Regions from separate parts of the Homo sapiens genome. Here regions 1 and 2 are each linked to region 3. The links are contacts of gene promoters, found by promoter capture Hi-C in human tissues and cell types (Jung and others, 2019). All regions are on one chromosome and are shown on one strand. Each heading gives the region's core, a stretch centred on a gene start or on the middle of the fragment in contact. The rest is flanking DNA. Distances are from core to core; before and after follow the strand shown. Region 1 has its middle 140 kb from the start of ZNF536. Region 2 has its middle 30 kb from the start of ZNF536-AS1. Region 3 holds the start of C19orf12 (chromosome 19 open reading frame 12).

Region 1 (2,700 bases), core at 165-2,664, 520 kb after region 3:
AAGCCCACCTAAAATCGAGATTAATCACAGAAATGCCCATTCAGCCTTAATTATAATGATGGTCTGGCTTGCATTTCTGAGATTCCCTCATAATTCCCATAAATTTGAAGGAGAGTTTGGTTCATGCAAGTACCAGATCGTAGGACCCTCGGGAGGTGGTATTAATTCAGCAGACATTCCTGCTTGTGGTTTCCAGGTACAGGAGGAAGGGAAGGTTTGGGGCTCTTCGGTGTAGGTATGGAGAGGTGGCCACAACATTGACACCTGCAGTGGCCACTATTGGGTGGTGACCCCATGCCAGGCACTACATTACACACCCCGGGTGCATTATCTTGCTTAGTTCTTTTAATGCCCCAGGGAAGGGCCTCCCTTGGGGCAGCTTCCGCAGTGGGCAAACTGAGGGGTGTAGGAACTTGTTGCTGCCCATGCCTGTGGCATGGCCGAGCGGGCATTGGAAGCCAGCTGCATTGGCCCAGGAGGCGCGTGTCTCAGCCTTGTTTGCACTCCTGCCTCCCTAAACTGTCCTTAGCACTGAGAACAAAATCATCCTTCTGAATAATGTTAACCCGCCTTGAAAAGGAAAGTTAAAAATGTCAACCGGAACTTGCTACTTTGAGAACATATACATTGTTGTGAATTTGTTATTAAGAGGGAGAAAATATTTGGAAATGCTATGTCAGCTAACAAGTAACTATAGAGACAGCAAACAGATCACAGCCCACATAGATATTACATATAAAATTTAATCTCTTTGAATAGCTTGATATTTAATTTTATCTTCTGAAATATCTAGAAACACTTATCCCTTATTGACTAGAGAAAAAAAGTAGCTTACACAATTTTTGTGTGTGGTTATTTTCCCAAAATTTTAATTCCCGATTAAAATCTATTTAAATCAAATCAGGCAATGTCTTCCAAATTATTATGGAAAGGCCGTCATTTATATGAAGCCTATTGAAGGGGCTGGGAAGTCTTACTGCAATTAGAGCTAAAGTGCTTTAATTATTTTGCTTCCCCGGCCAGGGCCCCCAGTTTTGGGGTTGTAATCTGTTGATGCCAAGTGGCTATTTCAGCAGCCTTAAATCTGCACCGAGCAGAGAGCGTCTCACGGATAGAACATGGCTGGATCTGTTCATTAAACTCAGTGCATGGATTCCACAGCATCAGAGAAACTTTATTCCCCAACGTTTCCACCCGAAAGAGGGTCAATGCTGGTGGGTGGGCAGTCCCCCTCCAACAGCCCAAGAAGAGTTCAAAAGGTGGAAAAGTGGTAGTGTGGGAATGCGAGGAGGAAGAAAAGCGGCCACATGCCGGCATGAAAGGATTTAATCTGCGCAGCCGAAACCTCCTCTGATAGTGGAGGGCTTGCTTCTGTGCTGGTCTTGGCAAAGCCACTCTCTCACTGAGTCCTGCCGCCGCCGGGTACTGAGGACTTGCATGTAGCTGGGAACAGTCTGAAGCCACAGCCTGCCTGGAGCTCTCATGGACATTGCATGCACCATTTCTTAAGCAAAAAGCCAGACACTCCATCTGCAATTCTTTTTAGAGATCATTGGTTTGACAACTTCATATTTATTTTCCGTGTGATTTTTGTTTTGTTTTGTTTCAGCCCCCCCACCCCACCCATTTCCTTCTTTTTGGCTTTTTCACCCTGTGTGTACACATTCATCCTGAAAGTATTTTGAAAAAGCTTTTGTTAAAGTTGGGGCGGGGGGGGGGTACAATTGGAATTTTAGTTCCATTTAAAATTTCCATCTATTTTGAAGGCAGAAGAAGTACAGACAAGATAACATGAACATTTCCATCATCTAAAAATGGATTAAGGCTGCAAGGTAGCAATTTTCCCCTTTAATAACTACTGCCACCCCAAGAAGACACAGTGGCTTTCTTAGTAGGTGACAAACGATTAGCTCAGCCAGGGTCTGGTCATCTGGTTGGCATTCCCCATGACAGTGCCCTGGGATGTAACGGATGGTGATATGGCTTGTCCTTTGGAGGGGGGTGGTAGGGATGTGTATGCCCGGCATGTTGGCATGTTTGTTCTTTGGCGATGGCTGTCTGGTGAGGTCAAGTAATATATTCCAGATATTAGAGTATGTGCCATCTTCCAAATGCTTCCTGAAGAACTGGTTGCATTTTGACATTCTGCTCCTTTGTCTCACTGACACCAGCAACTTGATCCTCACGTCTCAAAATGTTGACAGGAGCTAGATTCTTGTGAGATTTTTTTTTTTTTCTTCTAGGCACTGCCTGGCTAAGGAGCCTGGCCACTCAGGTGAAAAATACCAGGCCCCTGTGTGGATCTGGGGGACAGCAGGAGTCTGTTGTTAAGAAAACTTTTTCTCCCTTTGCATGATAATATTGCTCAGATGAAAATCACACAATTTTTGTGTGATCTCCAAATACCACCTTCAATAAAATAATTTGTTCATTGATCTGAAGAATGAGTGGTTTCCAGCTGCTTCCTTCCCCGGGACAGACTTTCGCATTGGAATCTGTCTCTTTGACTCACTTCTGGTAGAGGTTGGCCTCCCGTGGAGGCCATTGTGAAAGGGCCAGGCAGCCTGGGGAGGCTGGGGATGGAGCCCTTGTTTCTCTAGGAATCAGAGGGCTTAGCAGAATCAAACACAAAATCATAATATGATAATTTGAGCTTAAACGTGAAGGTATTTATGATCACTGATCTTCATCTCAAAGGTA
Region 2 (2,700 bases), core at 45-2,544, 930 kb after region 3:
TATATCAGGTATAGTTATTCTAAAGTCTGTAACTCTAGAACTCAATATTTGTATCTTTGGTAGGCCTGATTACATTAGCTGTTGCCTGATTTTCTGTCTTTGTTTTTACTCATTTGGTCGTATTTCCTGGTGTTCCTGGTAATTTTTATCAAATGTCAGACATGGCGTATACAAATTTTAGAGATGCCTTTTGACTGTATGAGAACTGCCAAATAGGAATGTAATGTGAACCACCCACGTCATTTAAATTTTGTAGTAGCAACATTAAATAAGCATGAATACATAGTTAACTATTTTTAAGAACGTATTTTGTTGTATTTAACCTGGTGTACCCGAAGTATTATCATTTGAGCAGGTAACCAATATAAAGAGTATTAATGGGACATTTTACGTGTCTTTTTTGTACTAAGTCTTGGAAATCCAGTGAGTGTTTTACCCTCATAGCACTTCTCAATTCTGACAAAGCCCCATCCCAAGTTCCCAGTAGCCACATGGCCGTCAGCTACCCTGGCAGGCAGCACAGCTCTGGATGGTGTTATCTTCCTCTAGGGAGGATTTACTTTTGTTTCCAGTAGGCCATTAGGCTTGCGGAAGATCACCATAAGTCAATCAGAAATTGAGCAGATTTTAAGGATTTATTTCTTATCTGTTCTTACTCCTTCTTCTGCCCCTTTAGGGGTAACAAATAAGTGTGCGGGGTGCTTATCAGGAAACTTCTGCCTTACAAAGCCCTAGATTCTGGTGTTTATCTTCTTGGTCCCTTGGACTACGGATGTCTCTGCTTTGCTTCTCAGCATCTCGTTGGCTGCCATTTGTAAGTTCACAACTGTCTCAAGGGGAAAAGCAAAGTCAAAAGCAAGCCCAGCATTCTGTGCTCCTTCCTTTTTAGAATCTTGACCTGTCAAGTCTTGGCTCCTTTGATAACTCTATTACACCTTGAAATTATTTATATACTCACATACTGGCCAGGTGCTGTGGCTCACGCCTGTAATTCCAGCACTTTGGGAGGCCGAGATGGGCAGATCACCTGAGGTCAGGAGTTTGAGACCAGCCTGGCTAACACGGTGAAACCTCCATCACTACCAAAAAATACAAAAATTAGCTGGGCGTGGTGGCACGTGCCTGTAGTCCCAGCTACTTGGGAGGCTGAGGTGGAAGGATCACTTGAATCCGGGAGGCAGAGGTTGCAGTGAGCCAAGATCACGCCACTGCATTCCAGCCTGGGCAACAGAGTGAGAGTGAGACCCTGTCTCAAGAAAAAAAAAATTGGTTATATACACACAAATACGCACCACTGTTTTTTTCATGCAGCTTTTCTAGTTGTGCTCAATAAGACAGTTGATTTGTTACAGGCTCTTTTACTATAGCCAGAAGTAGAAGTAAAATAACGTCTTAAATAACTAAAACCAGATTTTCCTCCCCTGTTTGGCAATCAGCACTGTTTCAGCCTTTGAGAGAAAACTTATTTCTTTACTTCTGACTCAGCACACCAAAATCTCTGGGGAAGAAGATTATCTCCCCAGTTCTAAGGACTGGCAAATTGAGGTATCGTAAGATTGTGCCTCGCAAGAGTCAGGCCCAAGATCCTCCAGGCTTCTCCCTGCACCGTCTTACCAGCCTGCAAGGCAGGGAGGTTTGCTGACCTGGTGTTTGTACTGGTAGCTCCTGAATATCCCTCTGTGCAGGCACAGGCACTCCATATCCTATATGAAGTGGTAGCAGTGGCCATCATTCCAGGCAAGCTTACAGTTTCACAGAGATCAGAGGCACATTCAAAGGACATTCATTTCTTATGCAGCATTTACTAAGATGTTGTCTTATACCAGACCTGGGCTAGGGCCTCGTGTCAGCAGCAGAATGCCGTCATTCACAGCCCTGCTGTTGGGGAGCACGTCTCCTGGGGCACATCCTGGTTTGGTATGAAGGCCCTGTCTGGGACATAGACACAGAATGCTGTGGACACATGAAAACCCTATGCAGCTGTACACATTCCCACCTGCGTAAGTCTCTAGTTCAGCTTCAGTACCGCTTAGTTATCTCTGGATCAGCAGCTAAGGCCTTATAATATTTCAAGTATAAAATATTTAAATAAAACATTTTACCATGTTCGTGAGATAAAATCTTTAGCATTAATAGAAATTTTACTTTTTCACAAAAAATGGAAGTTAACTGAAGCTTACTTTTAATATACTACATTTAACCCAATCTGTTTTACTTCTCAAAAAAGAAATCAACCTGTGTTTTCTTGAAAGAAAAGCAAATTCTATTTTTTTCTGTTCTGATTATTTAAAAAATAGAAAAAACTCCCAGACATTGCTTACTGCATGAAGAATGCCACAGTTTTAGTTTATCTCCTTTCAGCTTTCTTCCTGTGCCTAGCTTTTATGGAATTGTAATCTTGCTGTCATATGATTTCTGCATGTCATATACATGTAATATATATGTGTAGTATGAAATTTTTTCTCATGTTATTAAAACGTATATGTATAAACGTATGGCTACACTAAAATATCATTATATAGTTATTTACCCTATTGTTGAATATGTCGACTGTTTCCAATGTTTTTATTATTACAAATATAATACAGGGAATGTCTTTGAACATAAAGGCAGCTCCTCTTATTCCATCTTCACCCTCGTGCTTTAGAGTATTTCTCTAGGGAAGACCACCAGAAATGGAATTACTGCATCAAAGCAATG
Region 3 (2,700 bases), core at 1-2,500:
TCTCTTTCCCTCTCCCCTTCCTTCCTGCTTTTTGTTGTTGCTGGTGTTGTTGTTGTTTTTTCCAGAAACGCAGTCTCCCTGTGTTGCCTAGGCTGGTCGGGAACTGGCCTCAAGCAATTCTTCCGCCTCGGCCTCCCGAGTAGCTGGAACTACAGGTGCTATTCCAAGATGGTGAAACCCCGTCTCTACTAAAAAATACAAAAATTGGTCGGGGTGGCTCACGTCTGTAATCCCAGCATTGCAGAAGGCTGAGGCAGGTGGATCGCAAGGTCAGGAGTTTGAGATTAGCCTGGCCGATATGGTGAAACTCCGTCTCTACTAAAAATACAAAAAAATTAGCCAGGCTTGGTGGTGTCGCCTGTAATCCCAGCTACTAGGGAGGCTGAGGCAGGGGAATTGCTTGAACGAGGGAGGTGGAGGTTGCAGTGAGCCGAGATCGCGCCATTGCACTCCAGCCTGGACAACAGAGCAAGACTGTCTAAACAAAAGCTCAACAAACTACCTGCCATCCCCAAAACTAATCTCACCTCCTAAAGCATTAACGACCCTTCCTGACCAAATCTAAACTAGCGCCCAGATTTTCTTCCCATATGGCTCAGCCCAGCTCCGCTGCCCCACAGGTGTCCTGTCAGGATCCGCTTCACATTTATAATACCTAGCACCCCACCCCCAGCCCCGCCCCTGCCCCACCAGCCACCCCCACTCTACCCCACCCCTACCCATCACATTCCGCACCCCACCCCCGCCAAACCCACATCCCCACCCCACCCAACCTCACCCACTCCCACCACATCCACCACCCGCACCCCACCCCCACCCACCACACCCATGCCTACGCCACTCCTGGGTGACAGCGAGCCAGGGCCCGGGACTCTAGTCCCAGCTCTGCTGCTTACTTGTGTGACTTCAGCCTCTCCATGCCTCAGTTTCTCCATAGGGACAATGACTACACTAACAGTGTCCACCCCGGCACCGGGAGGGCCGGGCTCCCGGCAGGGCGGGGACCCTCTCCCCAAGGCACTCCCGGGTCTCCAGGCCTGCTCTTGGGGTGCCCCCTCCTCTCGCGGGGCGCGGCCTGGGAGGCGCCCCGCCCCGGCTCCGGGCGCTCCTTTACCTGGGGGAGCGGAGGTCTACGCGGCGCGCTCGGCGATCAGACGCGGCTGCAGCCCGGGCCTGGCAGGCCCCGGGCTCCCCGCCCAGCTCCCCAGCCCCGCGGAGGGTCGCGCAGGCCTTGGTGGCGGCCCCGGCGCTGGCCCCGCCCTCCGTCCCACCTTCCGGCTGCGCCGGGCCTTCCGGGAAGCCACGCGCCGGGCCAGCTCCTGGCTCCGAGCTGCGCCCGGCCTTAGGGGGAGCCGGGGGTCGCTGCTGGGCACCCCCTCCCCGGTCCTGGCCCACCCCGCCGCTGTCACCGGGGCCCTGGCTTGGGTTGCGGGTGGCGTAAGGAGACGAGGCGCCCGGAGAAGAGTCCTGGGAACCGCAAGGCCGCGCTCCCGCAGGCCCAGCCCTGCCTTTCTCCCACGCGCACGCATGATCACATCCGGGCCCCGCGCACCTGCCTCCAGGACCGCGGGGACCTCCCGGAGACCTCCCTCCCTTTGGCCTGGAGGACCCCTCTCTCCCCGCAGCCTGGGCACAGAAGAGAGCACAGGGGCATCTGGAGGTCAAGGGTGCTGCGTCAGTATTTGGTGAATGTGTGGGCCGGAGCCAGATTTCCTCTGTTCCAGAGCCTGCTCTGGAGCCTCTGGGTCTGGGGGTTGCAAAAGGAGAAGCAGGTTGGGTGGGACTCGTAATCCCAGCTGCCAGTGAGGCTGAGGAGGGAGGATTGCTTGAGCCCAGCAGTTCGAGCGTGGGCAACACAGTGACATCCCATCTCTACAAATAATAATAAAAATTAGGCCGGGTGGGTGAGTCATACCTGTGACCTACAGCATTTTGGGAGGCTGAAGCGGGAGGATTGCTTGAGCCCAGGAGTTCGAGGCTGCAGTGAACTATGATCCCACCACTGCACTTCAACCTGGGTGACAGAGTGAGACCGTCTCTTAAAGAAAGAAAAAAAAGGAAAAGAACTGGCTTTGCTCTTAGGAGTCTTGGATGGGGACCAAAGCTGAGGCAAGGCAGCCTCTTAGGAAGGTGCAAAGGGCATGAGGCTGGGGTTGCAGAACTGCCTGGGAATACTACTTTATTGAGGCCTGTGGAAAGCTGTCCCTACTCTTGTCATGCAAGGTCTGGCCTTGAACCATCTCAAATCCAAAAGTGGCTTCTGGGGGGCTCTATAGAGAATTAATCCTAACAGGAACCCTGCAAAGCAGGCATGGTTGTCACTGCTATATTACAGATGGGAAGCTCTAAACACAGGCTGCTCTGCCCAAGGCCATCCTGGTTAGAAAGTTTCAGGGCCCAAACTCCAGCCTCGGTCTCGGTATCTCAAAGTCTCCGCCTGTGACCAGCACTCTGCCTGCTTTCCAGGGTGCCATGGGCACCCAGAGGACGGACCCTTTTCCATTTTTAAAAGAATGGAACAAACGCTCTTAATACCAAGCTTCCCCAGGCCTTGGCTGGGATAAAACAACCCCATTTATTCCTGAATCGGAGCTTTTGCTTGAGTTTGGGTGACTTTCAAGAGGGAAAGTGAACTGAGGCCAGGGGAACTCAGCTTGCTGCCTTCCTGGGGCCTGAGTGTGGCGCTCCCGTTTCTCTGCG

What was found. The method cuts DNA at HindIII sites, captures the fragments that hold promoters and counts their contacts. A contact is called where the count stands out against the background at its distance.
Region 1: a contact is called between a fragment that was not itself captured here and the fragment with the promoter of C19orf12 in region 3, in 1 of the 25 tissues and cell types used here (H1 embryonic stem cells).
Region 2: a contact is called between a fragment that was not itself captured here and the fragment with the promoter of C19orf12 in region 3, in 1 of the 25 tissues and cell types used here (dorsolateral prefrontal cortex).

What each region holds. Positions count from the first base shown.
Region 1 is chr19:30,234,821-30,237,520 of GRCh38, forward strand. It overlaps a transcript of ZNF536 not described here. Among named protein-coding and RNA genes, the nearest start is that of ZNF536, 140 kb to the right of the region's middle. The HindIII fragment of the contact is 8,727 bases long and covers 1-2,700 here.
Region 2 is chr19:30,639,000-30,641,699 of GRCh38, forward strand. It overlaps a transcript of ZNF536 not described here. Among named protein-coding and RNA genes, the nearest start is that of ZNF536-AS1, 30 kb to the right of the region's middle. The HindIII fragment of the contact is 3,093 bases long and covers 1-2,700 here.
Region 3 is chr19:29,714,011-29,716,710 of GRCh38, forward strand. It overlaps C19orf12 (chromosome 19 open reading frame 12), which reads right to left and starts at 1,251. Exons shown (of 3, transcript NM_031448.6): 1 at 1,115-1,251. RefSeq lists a silencer at 786-1,575 and enhancers at 1,746-1,845, 2,391-2,610. The HindIII fragment of the contact is 8,975 bases long and covers 1,225-2,700 here.